2 separate regions of the Homo sapiens genome follow, and region 2 is linked to region 1. The links are contacts of gene promoters, found by promoter capture Hi-C in human tissues and cell types (Jung and others, 2019). All regions are on one chromosome and are shown on one strand. The core of a region is centred on a gene start or on the middle of the fragment in contact, and the rest is flanking DNA. Distances in the headings are between cores, read along the strand shown.

The links. Contacts are between HindIII fragments. The study calls those that stand out against the background at their distance.
Region 2: a contact is called between a fragment that was not itself captured here and the fragment with the promoter of ZNF138 in region 1, in 1 of the 25 tissues and cell types used here (H1 embryonic stem cells).

What each region holds. Positions count from the first base shown.
Region 1 is chr7:64,790,178-64,797,512 of GRCh38, forward strand. ZNF138 (zinc finger protein 138) reads left to right here and starts at 4,251. Exons shown (of 4, transcript NM_001271639.2): 1 at 4,251-4,394. The coding sequence starts at 4,392. RefSeq lists enhancers at 3,977-4,026, 4,267-4,506, 4,291-4,851. The HindIII fragment of the contact is 15,546 bases long and covers 1-7,335 here.
Region 2 is chr7:64,755,218-64,762,552 of GRCh38, forward strand. No RefSeq gene overlaps it. Among named protein-coding and RNA genes, the nearest start is that of ZNF138, 36 kb to the right of the region's middle. The HindIII fragment of the contact is 6,380 bases long and covers 974-7,335 here.

The DNA of each region.
Region 1 (7,335 bases), core at 3,001-5,500:
GCGGGCGGATCACCTGAGGTCAGGAGTTCAAGACCAGCCTGTTCAACATGGTGAAACCCTGTCTCTACTAAAAATACAAAAGTTAGCTGGGTGTAGTGGCAGGTGCCTCTAATCCCAGCTACTCAGTAGGCTGAAGCAGGAGAATCACTTGAACCCGGGAGGCGGAGGTTGCAGTGACCCAAGATCGCGCCATTGCACTCCAGCCTGGGCGACGAAGCAAGACTCTGTCTCAAAACAAACAAACAAAAAAACAAAATAATGGCACTCAGAGCAACCTGGATAAAGTTGGAGATCATTATTCTAAGTAAAGTAACCCAGAAATGGAAAACCAAGCATGGCATGTTGTCACTTTTTAGTGAGAGCTAAACTATGAGGATATAAAGGCATAAGAATTATGTCACATAATGGACTCTAGAAACTTGGGGGAAAGGGCGGTGTGGGGTTGAGGGATAAAAGACTACACATTGGGTACAGCGTATACTGCTCTGTAGATGGGTGCACCAAAATCTCACACACCACTGCTAAAGAACTTATTCATGTAACCAAACACCACCTGTACCCCCAAAACTATTGAAATAGTAATGATAAAAACAAGAAACACAGAAAACTCCATAAGTTTAAGTTTATATGCTTTGGCATTTTATTTTTTTTAGAAAGGGTCTCCCTCTGTCACCCAGAATGAAGTACAGTGGCTTGATCACGGCTCACTGCAGCCTCGACCTTTTGGGCTCAGGCAATTCGCCTTCCTCAGCCTCCTAAATAGCTGGTACTACAAGTGCGGGCCACCATACCCAGCTAATGTTTGTATTATTTGTAAACATAGGGTTTTGCCATGTTGCCCAGGCTGGACTTGTATTCCTAGGCTTAAACAGTCTTTGTTTCTTGGCTTTTTAAAGTGCTGGGATTAGGTTGGGCACAGTGGCTCGTGCTTGTAATCCCAGCATTTTGGGAGGATGAGACGGTTGGATCACTTGAGGTCAGGCATTTGAAACCAGCCTGGCCAACATGGTGAAACCCCGTCTCTACTAATTATCTAATTCTCTAGAGAATTTTGCAGCCAACTTTATATATGAACAAACTTATGCCTTGATAGGTACAAGATGAAGGGTCAATGTGGGTGAGAAATTCTAATGGGACATTTGTTGCCTCATAATATCAGAAACACAGAATATAGGTCCACTGCTCTTAACCTACTTCAGAAGTTAAAAAGAACTCATTCACAATAAGTTTCAGAGCATTGCCTGGCCATTACTCTTCTAAATAAGCATCATTTGTTAGGTCTTTTTTTTTTTTTTTTTTTCATGGTTCAGGGTAAAAAAATCAGGCATTGGTTAGACATTTATCCTTCATAATAGTCTCTATAGCAGATTCTACTGCAAAGGCTATGGTTACACAATAGACTTTTTTTACTAAAGTTGTGCTAAATAATGGAATTTCTTGAGATTACTTATTGCATAAACAGAAAAGTATCTGTGTAGTTGCTAATATGCATAGTTGCACATGGAGAAATATATTATAGAGATTATACAGAAATATATTACACGTATTACAGAGATTCAGTTACGGGGGTTTAAGAAACAGGCTGCTTGGTTGAAATGAGGAGACCATTTATTTAGCTGATAACTTGGTCTATCTCTCAAAATTGAGAAGATAACCAAAAAGGAGAAATTGTTAAATTATAGCCTGAAGCTCTCTGTTTTCATGTTTAATTTTGGTCAGTAGGTTTTTTGTTTGTTTGTTTTTCTTTTTTTTTTTTTTTTGGTACATACTAAACTGAAACCTAACTGGATATGTAAGTAGATTATAACCCATTCCTGTACCAGCCACTGTGATTTTGCCAATAAAAGGACATCAACTCTTCAAACCATGTTCAAATAAGGCAAATCCCAAGCTGTAATCAATTTGGCTGTTTCTGTACCTCAATTTCATTTTCTGTATGCCACTTTGCTTTTTCTGTTGATCAATTTTTTTACCATGTTGCTGTGCTGGAGTCTCTCTGAGCCTATTCTGGGCCCACAGGCTGCCTGATTTGCAAATCATTCTTTGTTCATTTAGACTCTGTTACATTCAATTTCTCTGAAGGTTTTGTTTTTTTTTTTAGATGTTTACAGATTTTATCTATGATAAAAAATAAGTAATGTGTTGCTGGGCTTTGATTTTCTCAACTCATCCCTCATCTATCTTTTTCCACATATGCTATGTCCTTTTGAAATGCTCCTGCAACTTTTTTCTTTTCTGTTTCTTTTCTTTTCTTTTTTTTTTTTTGGAGAAAGGATCACACTCTCACCACCCAGGCTGAAGTGCAGTGTCGTAACCAATCATGGCTCACTGCAGCCTCGACCTTCCAGGCTCAAGTAATCCTCTTGCCTCTGCCACCTGAGTAGCTGGGACTACAGGATTGCCTCATGCTGGCTAATTTTTATTTTTATTTATTTTTATTTTTTATTTTTTTTGAGACGGAGTCTCGCTCTGTCACCCAGGCTGGAGTGCAGTGGTGGGATCTTGGCTCACTGCAAGCCCCATCTCGTGGGTTCATGCCATTCTCCTGCCTCAGCCTCCCGAGCAGCTGGGACTGTATTTTTAGTAGAGACGGGGTTTCACCGTGTTAGCCAGGATGGTCTCGATCTCCTGACCTCGTGATCTGCCCTCCTCGGCCTCCCAAAGTGCTGGGATTACAGGCATGAGCCACCGCGCCCGGCCATGACTGGCTAATTAAAAAAAAAAAAATTTTCATGCACATAGGATCTTAACTATGTTATTCAGGCTGCACTTGAACTCCTGAGCGCAAGTGATTCTCCCATCTCAGCTTGCCAAAGTGCTAGGATTATAGATGTGAGCTACCGTGTGCTTCTTCAATTTCTTAAGATTATTTCTAGCAATAATAATAAACAGTGCTATATGGGCACAAATCTAAAAGAAATCTGGCTTCTATTTTAGAAGTGTCACTCTCCAGGATTTCAAGGGTCAAATGGAGTTAATTCTGAGTCCCAGCCCAGCCACTTAATAGCTGTGGGTCTTTGCACAAATTTTTTTTTTTTTGATGTGGAAGAGTTATATAAACCACATATGCAAAAAAAGGCAGAATGATACTGATTGCAAAAATGTTAGCAATTTTTCATCCCTCCGCTATCCATGCCCATTGCCAGGTGCATTTACAGCTGTTTCCATTGAGATCCAGTTCTGTTTTCCAAACCCTAGATCTGGCTGGCCTTATTTGCTCAGGGCAGTAAAAACCTGTGAACAGTGCAGTGTGCTAGTTTGAGGCGTAGGCTCAAATGGTTTTGCATGCTTCTGTTTTTCTTTCAGAAGGCTACTATCTCCGCGAAAAAAGCCCATGTTAGCCAGATGGAAGATAAAATAGTATGGGGAGGAGAAGCAAGTTGCCTCTGTTGACAGCCTCAGAAGCAGAAGCTCACCCCCAGAAGCACAGCTGCCTAGTCAACAAGCAGCTGATGATACATGTCTGAAGGAACTCAGCTGAGGTCACAAGAATGGTCTCACTGAGCCCAGCCTAAATGACTAACCATCTCAATTAGAGTGAATTCCACCTGTTTATTCTTAAAGTTTGACTACTAGAAAATTTGGAATTCACATGTGCTCTGTAATCCCAGCACTTTGGGAGGCCGAGGCAGGTGGATCACCTGAGGTCAGGAGTTCGAGATCAGCCTGACCAACATGGCAAAATTCTGTCTCTATTAAATATACAAAAAGTAGCCGGGCGTGGAGGCGGGTGCCTGTAATCCCAATTACTCAGGAGGCTAAGGCAGGAGAATCACTTGAGCCCGAGATGCGGAGTTTGGGGTGAGCCGAAATCGTGCCACTGTGCTTGAGCCTGGGTGAGAGTGAGACTCTGTCTCAAAAAAAAAAAAGAAAAAAATCTCAGGCTGCCTGCTCAAAGGACCAGAAGCCAGTACGGTTATAAAATCTGGAATTTAAAAATAATTGTTATATTCAGATGTGAATAGCTATATGTTATTTATAAATGCATACGACCTTATACACAAGGTTAAATGCAAATGCCCTCTGGGGTGGGCCTGACTCAGCTCAGGGAGGAAGCCCTTCTGGAAAAGGCTGCTGCTTAGGTTTAACTCTGTCTTCCTTCAGCCCAGCACCTGAGCACATCTGTCACTCAGGGCCTGAGGGGGCGGGTTGTTAAACGTTATCCAATCAGGGACGCCGGGCTGGGAACGGTCCAATCAGGCACCCAGCTGGAGCGGACATGACGTCTTCCGGGAGGCGGCGGGGTCTTTGTCTCGCTGCAGCGGGTGCTGCAGGTCTGGCCTTCACTTTTCTGCGTCCTCTTACTCCTAGAGGCCCAGCCTCTGTGGCGCTGTGATCTGGTTATTGGGAGATTCACAGCTAAGACGCCAGGATCCCCCGGAAGCCTAGAAATGGTGAGAGTGCTGGGTCCGACATCCCGAGAGAGGGGGAGGGAGCTGGTTGGAACCGGTCGGAAGTGGCTGTGGCAGTACTCGGGTCTTCCCGCAGTCGGCTGCAAAATCCGCGGCCCCGAGTTCTTGGCACAGCTCGGCCCTCAGTCCCCTTAAGCCATAGCATGGCAGCTGGGCTGACAGCCGGAACCAGGCGTCCTGTCTCCTCCCTGCGCAGTGACTGTGCCCTGGCCTGGAGCCCTCTCTGAGCAGCTCTGCACCCGCAGCGATTGTGCAGAGACGACGGGAGGGTCGTCAGGGGAGAATCCTGACTCGGGGTGCTGGGTTCATGAATGGGAAGAGGTTTCCTCCGCGGGCTTCCCTGTCCCTCTTTTCCCCTATTAAAATTTATGAAAGTCACCGCAAAAAAATTAATTTAATCAAACAGTGATTCAAGAATTGTGGAGCACCCAGCTGTGGTTTGCAGTAGTGGTCCGTGGGAGGGGTTTGAAGGAAACACTTGTATAAGGTGTATGATAAAACCAAATTCAGTAATTGGTTAGTAGAGTTATGTAGTTTCTTAATTTGTACAATGAAGGAGGAAATTTCCTGGTCATGTAATCAGAGGTTAATTGGCAGTTTACAGTTGGTTAAACATGAATTTTATTTTTCACAAGGTAGTAATTTACAAAAAAATGCATTTGAGTTAGATTTTTTTAAAACCAGAAACCCTGGGACTGGAGCGACCTCAGTCTAATTGCCTGCCACTTAATTATTTTCACACTCCACAGGGGACAGATCTTCCCCTTCATTTTTCACATGTGTCCCAAGCAGGGTCTCAAGACTCCTCCCCCTCCCCATTTCCCATTCCTTCAGCCTAACTCTGGCTTGCAGTAAAATACTAAATTTCCAGTTCCTTCTGACATTCCCAAATGCCAACTTCCCCTTCCTAATTCACATTATCAACTATTTGTCCTTTAGTGTACATTTGAAATACTGTATTTTAATTAATCATTTTTTGACAAAGCATGGATGGCATTTTAAAAAAGATTTGTTATCTGTTTGTAAATATTTCCCATGAGAAGAAACCAAAGACTCATCCCCTGATGCTGTATTGTAAAAAATCTCTGTGCCTTTTTTTTTTTTTTTAAATCTTCCCTAGGTACAGAGATCTTATCAGAATATTTTTGGGTCAAGGTTTCCCTTTGGAAACTTTATAAGGTAATGTGTCCTTAGTCACTCTTCAGTTTTTTCCTTGGTCCTGGGTTTCAGTACTTTCTGAGGATAAATCAAAATATCCACTGTGGCTGTGTATGCTAGAATCTCTGGTAAATTTCAGCTCCTGGCCTGGAATGAACTCTGGTTATCTGGGAATGGGAGACAGAGGACAACCTGAGGTTGGAGTGTAGCCTCTCAAGGGAGCAGGTGAATGCCCTGGGGCTGAGAGGAATCTCCTGGTGTACTCTTCCTTTGAAAAGCAAACCCTTTGAGAAGTTAAGATTGTCTTCAAACCAACCCAGTGTCCATTTCCGGAGACATATTGCTGGTCAATCAATCATATGCTGGTATTGAGGGGAGAACACAGAAATAATTTCGGCCCACTGGATTCTCTAAGATTTGTGAAAGAAATGATAGTATCCAAAAAGACAAATCAAACCTTACCCCAGTGAGATGGTTCAAGAACTTGCAAAGTGAAATGTACTTGGGGCAGTCACTGAGGCATAGTGCAGCGTCTTCAGAGAGGGTGGTCTTCAGAGAGGGTGGTCGTTTAGCACTTAAGTGAGCAGGATGGGGTGGGAGAATCTCTCAAGTGATTGGGTGGCTTGACTTGACATGTGAGTGAGATACATCTGTTTTTTAATCAGCACTGCCACTCCCTGGGATTGTCACCCTGAAAAGATTTGTTCACTTACTTCAGTGTTTTAATTGTAACTTGCAGTTTATTAGTAGGACTAAAAGGTAAGAGGATAATTAGAATGGGCATGAAAGAGATGGGTTTTGGAAAAAAATATCTAATCATATATTCTATTTGTTAAGTATTCTCATTTACCTTTTTCTTTCCCAGACTGAGTTTAGGAATTTTCTCAGGTCTGTTTTTTTATGGCTGGGTGATGTCCAAGAGTATTCCAAGGCTTAGCTTTTAGAATGCTACCAAGGAAAAGAATAGGGAAAATACTTCTTCCATTTTGGCTGTGGAAAACGAATACATTTCCGGCGGGGTGCGGTGGCTCATGCCTGAAATCCCAGCACTGTGGGAGGCCAAGGCAGGGAGATCACCTGAGGTCAGGAGTTCTAGACCAGCCTGGCCAACATGGTGAAACCCCATCTCTACTAAAAATACAAAAATTAGAAATTAGCCATGAATGGTGATAGGCACCTGTAATCCCAGCTATTCGGGAGGCTGAGGTGGGAGAATCATTTGAACCCCATAGGCAGAGGTTGCAGTGAGCTGAGATCGTGCGGCTGCACTCCACCTTGGGCGACAGAGCGAGACTCCATCTCAAGAAAAAAGAAAGAAAGAAAATGAATACATTTCCACAAGAAGATGTGGTAGATAATTGGTGAGTTATACAGATTCATGAAAATATCAGTTCCTCCTTTTTCAGGGTACATTTCAGTGAATACCTCTCTTCTGTATCCAGTCATCTTGATTTCTGAGGTTAATGCTAAATTTTTTAAGATGAAACTTGGTCTATCCTAGAAGTGTTCCCATATGACTAATTGTTTACTACATCATTTTTAATGGATATAATAAAATAATTATTTATCGTTTTAAAAGATTACATACTTTTGCATTTGAGATATGTGACGTAAGTGCTTTAAAATTTCCTTCCCTTATATAAACACTGTGTTTGAGTAATTTTGCTGAATTTTTCAGTTTAAAAAACCATTTGAACAACTCCGACATGGAAATTAAAGCTTGCGCCAGTGACTGCAAGCTAAGGCTAATATTGAGCCTACAAAG
Region 2 (7,335 bases), core at 2,914-5,413, 35 kb before region 1:
TGCTGAAACTCACACAGTGCCCCACATCACAGGAGAAAAACACGCAGCTACAGCTGAACAATTAGGTCCAAGGCCAAACGGCAAAATAAGAAGTTGGCCTTTGTATTAGTCCATTTTCACACTGCTGTAAAGAACTACCTGAAACTGGGTAGTTTAAGAGAAGAGGTTTAATTGACTCACAGTTTTACATGGCTAAGGGGGGCTCTGGAATCTTACAATCATGGCAGAAAGCAAAAGGAAAACAAGGCCCGTCTTCACAAGGTGGCAGGAAAGAAAGAGAGAGGAAGAAACACATTTATTAAACAACCAGATCTCATAAGAACTCTATCACAAAACAGCAAGGGGAAGTCTGCCCCTTATGACTCAATCACTTCGCACCAGGTTTCTCCCCTGACATGTAGGGATTACAATTCAAGATGAGATTTGAGTGGGGACACAGAACAAAACCATATCAGCCTTTAGTCTATTTTCTCCACATCTAAACTTTGGAGGTCAACACTATAAAGAGTCCTGAAGACATGGGGTTCCCTGTTGCTGGGGCCCTATCATCCATTGTTTACTGTCTGATGTTTGGAAGGAAGAGGAATTCTCACCAAACAGAAACTGGGAGACAATGGTCTACATGTGGACACTTCCTGCTTGCAGTGGCTGCTCATTCTAGGGGCACTGTCCCTCCCATCTTTGGGCCTGAACGGAGAAGTTTATAAGGAGATGTTGCAGGCCAAAAGAGTGAGGGTTGTGATCAACTCAGTATACCACTGGAGGCTATATTAGTAAACAGCAAACTGTTCTCATAAATGCAGGATGTTAGCAGCTGACAACTGCATCTGCCACCCAGAAAGAATGCTGAGGGCAGTCACACCCCAAGCACAGTGCTTCTTGTAATTAGGCACATCTGAAGCCTGTTAGCAATAATGTGAACCTGTGATCACTCAAGCAGCTGACCAAACATTACCTCCTCCTTCCTGCTTTTTCTACCCAATAAATATGAAGGGCTGTAGAAGCTCAAGGTGGCTGTCTTCACTCACCAGACGCAGGGCGTCCTCTTCTTCTTCCCCTGGCCCCTTCCTTTAAAATAGTTTCTTTTGTTTTAGGTTTTCATTTCTCATTTGTCCTCCTTCATTCAGTCCTGTGGTAACCATGGCAAGCTGCAGCAGGGAGAGGCTGTTCCCTCATTTCCAGCAGAAAGCGGGTATTTAGGCCCTTCAGCTCCCTGAGATCAGAGAGTCAGATCCCTCAGAGCTGCTCTTTGATGTGGCAGCTACTTGACATTTGAGGCTACTAAGAACCTGGAATGTGGCAGATTTAAAATGAGATGTGCTGCAAATATAAAATACAGAGTGAGTTAAGAAGGTTTAGAACCAAAAATTACTTTATTAATAATTACATATTGATCACGTATTAAAATAAAAATATTTTGGATATACTGGGTTAATTACAAAAAATTTCACTTGTTTCTTTTTATTATATTTAATGTGGCTACTAAAAAACTTAAAATTCAAGATGGGCACAGTGGCTCAGGCCTGTAATCCCAGCACTTTGGGAGGCCGAGGGGAGTGGATCACAAGGTCAGAAGTTGGAGACCAGCCTAGCCAACATAGTGAAACCCCGTCTCTACTGAAAATACAAAAAATTAGCCAGGTGTGGTGGCAGGCACCTGCAATCCCAGCTACTTGGGAGGCTAAGGCAGGAGAATTGCTTGAACCTGGGAGGTGGAGGTTGCAGTGAACCGAGATCATGACATTGCATTCCAGCCTGGTGACAGTTGGAGACTCTGGCTCAAAAAAAAAAAAAAAAAAATTCACACATGGCTAACATTTTATTTCTTAGAGGATTGCTCTCCTGTTAAAATCTCAGCTTGCCTACTCAAAATGTGTCCAGAATTTATTCCTTCTGGCGGGTTCTTGGTCTCGCTGACTTCAAGAATGAAGCCACGGACCTTCACAACAAGTGTTACAGCTCTTAAAGATTGTGTGTCTGGAGTTTCTTCCTTCGGGTCTTCAGATATGTCCGGAGTTTCTTCCTTCTGGTGGGTTCTTGGTCTCACTGACTTCAACAATGAAGCTGCGGACTTTCATGGTGAGTATTACAGCTCTTAAAGGTGGTGCAGACCCAAAGAGTGAGCAGCAGTAAGATTTATTGTAAAGAGCAAAAGAACAAAGCTTCCACCCTGTGGAAGGGGACGGCAGCAGGTTGCCACTGCTGGCTCTGGTGGCCAGCTTTTATTCCCTTATTTGGCCCCATCCATATCCTGCTGATTGGTCCGTTTTACAGAGTGCTGATTGGTCCATTTTACGGAGTGCTGATTGGTCCATTTTACAGAGTGCTGATTGGTGTGTTTTTACAGCATGCTGATTGGTGCGTTTACAATCCTTTAGCTAGACACAAAAGTTCTCCAAGTCCCCACCTGACTCAGAAGCTTAGCTGGCTTCACCTCTCAATCCCCACTCTAAACAGGACACCCCAACTGCTGTTGGGAATTGAGTGATGGCCACTCTAGCTACCTCCTGTGGGATAGGGCTGAAGAAGGGGCCCTGCAGTTGTAGGGTCCTCCAGAGGGGAACTCTTTAGGCCAGTGAAAAGGTCAGAAGGTCTGTCCAGGGGTCCTCAGTAGAAGTTGTTAGTTGAGCTCATTTGGGGTTCCATTTTTAAGACCATCTGTAGCTTGATGGCCTCGATTCTAGAGGAAACAAATTTGACAAGGAGGTTAAAAATACAGGGCCTGAAGGCGAGTAATAACAAGATGACTGTCACGGGAACTTGAAAGGAGAAAAATCATGTCTCCCAACTCCAGAAGTTGGTATAAGAGGGTGAAAGGCATTGTCTGATTTCAGAAGCCTTTTCCTGTAAATGCCAGGCAGCATCTCATACTATCCCTGACTGGTTAGTGTAAAAGCAACACTTTTCTCCTGAGAAGGTGCGGAGTCCTCCTTTCTCATCAGTTAGGAGGTCTAGGCCTCAGCAGTTTTGGAGAGTCACTGCTGCCAAAGAGTCTATTTGGGATTGTACAGTAAGGATAGATTTCGTTATTTCTTGCAAATTGTCTGAGAAATCCTTTGAGACTGTGTGGTAGTAGGAGAATAAAGTAGATAAACTGGCTATTCCGGTTCCTGTAGCCATAGCCATTCCTAACCCTGTAAGTAGGGGTATTAGTTGTATGGCTCTGTGCTGCTGGACTTGAGCTTTGAGGGTTACTGATAGGATCTGATTTCCTGGGGCAATGTTAATGTTGGGACTTAGAAAGACTAAGGTGCAGGTGCCTGTCCAGATAGTGGGGAGGCAGATTTATAGGTTGACGTTCCACATAAGAATATACCTTGCCTGGGTAGACAGAACTAGTTGTGTATGTTAAAAAGGTGTGTGAGTTTGTTGTTTTTGTTTTCCCATACTCCTAGAGTACTTGCCAAGGTAGCTCTGGTGAGCAGCTGGAAAGGGGTGTTGGGAGAAAAATGAGTGGCTCCCTGTGTTCTCTTTTCCCATTGGAGAAAAAACCGTTCTGTATCTACTAGGAACCATTGGAGAGAGTGATTGAAAGAGGGGATGAAAAGGCATTCACTAGTGGTGGGGGCGCTGCTGCAGGGGGTCCAGGGGTGAATGGTCATGCAGGAAGTATGTTTGCCATTACAAAACCTGGACTGTTTGTTAAGCAGGGAGGAGGTGATGATTTTTGGAGACCCTGAGAGACAGACATGCTGTCTGAATGGAGCTGTTTGGGTGACTCAGAAGTTACTATGATCAGTTGGGGCTTGAAGTTGTAGGGTGTAATTACACTGATGGAGTAGTAGGTGCCCCGGGGGAAGGCCTGATAACAGATTGCGTTGGATGCATAAAGGGGTTTGGAAAGTTAAGGTGGTATTCGTAGTTACATGGCCATGTATGGGCTTTTCATTGCTTGTGTAATAGGTGAGGTTGGAAATGTAAGAATGTTAAAGTTGGTTGCACGTCCTGTTAGGGTATTCTTGGTCCTATCAGAGATGGGGAAGTTGGCTAATGATTGCATATCTAGATGTCAGAAAGGGTCTTTTCCTTCATAATGAGGATGGTAAGTTAAGTTGGTAAAGACCCAGTTTTTTGCGGGAATGGGAGTGGCAACGCAAGCAGAGTTTGATAGAGAGATGCAAAGCCAACAGTCATTTGCCAGGGAAGGATTGGACTGGTTTAACAGACAGTGGGTTAAGTTGAGAGTCTTGTATAGGTAATTAGGAGCTAGTGGAAGGGGAGGGGTGATTGTATGAGGTATCCAAGGAAGCAGGAGGGATAGATAGGCAAAGAGTATGGTTAGTATGCTGCTTAATAATATGATGAAATAGTAAAAGGATTCCATTAAAGGGGCAAGGAGAGGTGTTAACTTTTAGCAAATTTTACTTTTGTTGAAAACCTTGTAAGCTTGGGATTTCAATTACTCTTTGCTATTAATAAGACTTCGCTCAGTCCATATTAACTTAGAATTGATATAGATGGCTCCTTCCTGATTCCGTAAGTACTTTAAGGTTTGGCTGAGCACAAACAGCTCACACGTTTAAGCAGACCAATTTTTAGGCAATTTTCCTAACTCTGCCTCTACAAGAGTTTCCTTATCACTTATTGAATACCCATTGTGTCTTTTTCCCTTAAGCGCCCAGGAAGAACCACCTGTCTTTCTGTCCTGAAGGGAGTTCCTCCTATATCTGGTAGGACCTTTGTATGGTAATTAGTTAAGGTTTAGATCCCCTGTTAGGAAACCTGCTGGGTTAAGGATTTTTGATAGGAAGGCTATGGGTTGTCAGTGGCCTCAGTGCTTTTGGGCTGTGCCCTTGATTACACTGACAAGGTGGTATTGGATTGTTATAGGGTTACAGAGAAGGCCTTCAATGATCAATTATATTTACCCTGACTTTTAAAGGAAAAGGGTACACTGTTTTTTCTCCACTACTTCCATCTCTCTTTCTTTCTCTTTGACTTTCTGTCTTTTCTCTCTCTGACTCCCCTTTGTCTGTCTCTTCCTCTCTCTGACTTTCTGTCTCTCTCTTTGATTCCTTTGTCTCTTCCTCTCTCCTTCTCTGACTTTCTGTCTCTCTGACTCTTTGTCTCTGTCTCTTCCTCTCTTTTTGACTGTCTCTTTCTGTGTCTCTCTTTGTCTCTGTCTCTTCCTGTCTTTCTCTGTCTTTCCTCTCTGCTGATCTTTCCCTGACTCTGCCAGCCACTTATGCTGCTGTTCTCCCCTCTCCTTCCCCTTTTGATGGCTTCGGCAGTGTAAGAGTGCCACTTCCTTGGGTTTTTGCCTGCATGCAATAACTCCATGGTTTCCTTGTGATATTTAATGGGGGTTCCCCCAGAGGTTAGGCACTCCCTTTCTTTCCATATTGCAGTATGGGCTTGTAGGATTAGATAAGCATACTTACTATGTGTAGCAAAGTCTCCCAGTTACAACTGAGGAGGTGGGAGAAATATCTGGTTACAGGCTGTCCCAGGATTCCTCGGATGGTAGTTGACCTTGAAGACAGCTGTCCGGGACAGGAGATTAACACTGAGAGAGCCACACCAGTGTCCAGGAGGAAGTCAATTTCCTGACCCTCAATGGTTAAATGTACCCGGGGCTCAGTGAAGGTGATGATGTGAGGTGGCATTTGCCCTGGGCACCCTCAGTCCTGTTGTTGGATCATCTGGTTGGGGGCTTCTGGCCCAGAGAACCTTTGTCCTCTGGGGCAGTGCGCCTTTCAGTGATTGCCTCAGCATAGTGGAGATGGGCGAGGGGGTAGCTTGTTTCTCGTTGGACAATCTTTTTTAAAGTAGCCTTACAAATGACATTGATAACAAGCCCTACCAGGTGATTGGCCTGCTCCATTTTCTGTCCTCTCCGAACCACCAAAGTTTATTTGTCTGAGGGCCTTGACTATCCTGACCCTTGTAAAAAGGCATGTTGGATTTTGGTTTTTAAAATTCTTTTTTTTTTTTTTTTTTTTTTTTGAGATGGAGTCTTGCTGTGTCGCCCAGGCTGGAGTGCAGTGGCGAAATCTCGGCTCACTGTAAGCTCCGCCTCCCAGGTTCATGCCATTCTCCTGCCTCAGCCTCCCGAGTAGCTGGGTAGCTGGGACTACAGGCGCCTGCCACCATGCCTGGCTAATTTTTTTGTATTTTTAGTAGAGATGGGGTTCTAATCATATATTTTATTTGTTAAAAGTTGTTATTTACTTTTTTCCTTACAAAAGTGAGTGTAGTTGTTTCTCTGGTCTGCCACTTTTTGGGGGTAATTTCAAACAGAATCTCAGGGCTTAGCTTTGAGAATGCTACCAGGGAAAAATAGGAAATATCTCTCCTTTTATGGCTATAGAAAATGAATACATTTCCACAAGACGTGTAGTAAATCAACTGGTGCATTACATAGATGCATCAAAACAATAGTTCCTTTTTTTTTTGAGGGTGAAGAATTTGTAATATTTTGAATCTCTTTTCTGTAGCATGTCATTTGAATAAGTTTAATGCTAAATTTTTTAAGGTGATACTTGGCACCTTCTAAAAGTATTAATATATGGTTAATTGTTAAATTATTTTTTATAGAGATAAGTGATGTGTTTATTGTCTGAAAGGGATAGACACTTGTTTTTCGTTGTTTTGTTGTTGTTGAGATATAAAATGTAAATGCCTTACAACTTAATTCTCTTTCATAAACACTGAGTTTGAGTAATTTTGCTAGATTCTTCAAACACTGACTATTTTTTTAAATATAAAATCAAGTGTCCCAGAACTTTGGGAGGCCGAGGTGGGCAGATCAGCTGAGGTCGGGAGTTTGAGACCAGCCTGACCAACATGGAGAAACCCTATCTCTATTAAAAACACAAAATTAGATGGGCATGGTGGCGCATGCCTGTAATCCCAGCTACTTGGGAGGCTGAGGCAGGAGAATCACTTGAACCCAGGAGGTGGAGGTTGCAGTGAGCCAAGATCATGCCATTGCACTCCAGCCTGGGTGACAAGAGCAAAACTCCTCTCAGAAAAAAAAAAAAAATCAAGTGAACTATGCTGATTGGAAAATGAAAGCCCAAACCCAGTGACTCCAAGCTGGCCAGTCTTGAGCCTGCAAAAAGGGGTGATTGAACACCAAGTTGGTTGGTCTTTTACTGGTGAGTCACCCCTGCAGGTGTCCCAGCCTACTCACCTCAGCCATGGAAGAATTGTTTATACTGACAGAAGCTACAGAGCCCTGGAAAGCTGGATACTCAAAGTCAGATGCAGTTAAAGTTGGGATAGAAGTGGTTGGGGAGCCTCTTTTTGAGGATGGATTTGTTGTTATTGTCCTGGGGCTCTACCTAAACTTTGTCAAATAGAACTAATTTAGAGTTAGGTATGAAGTTACTT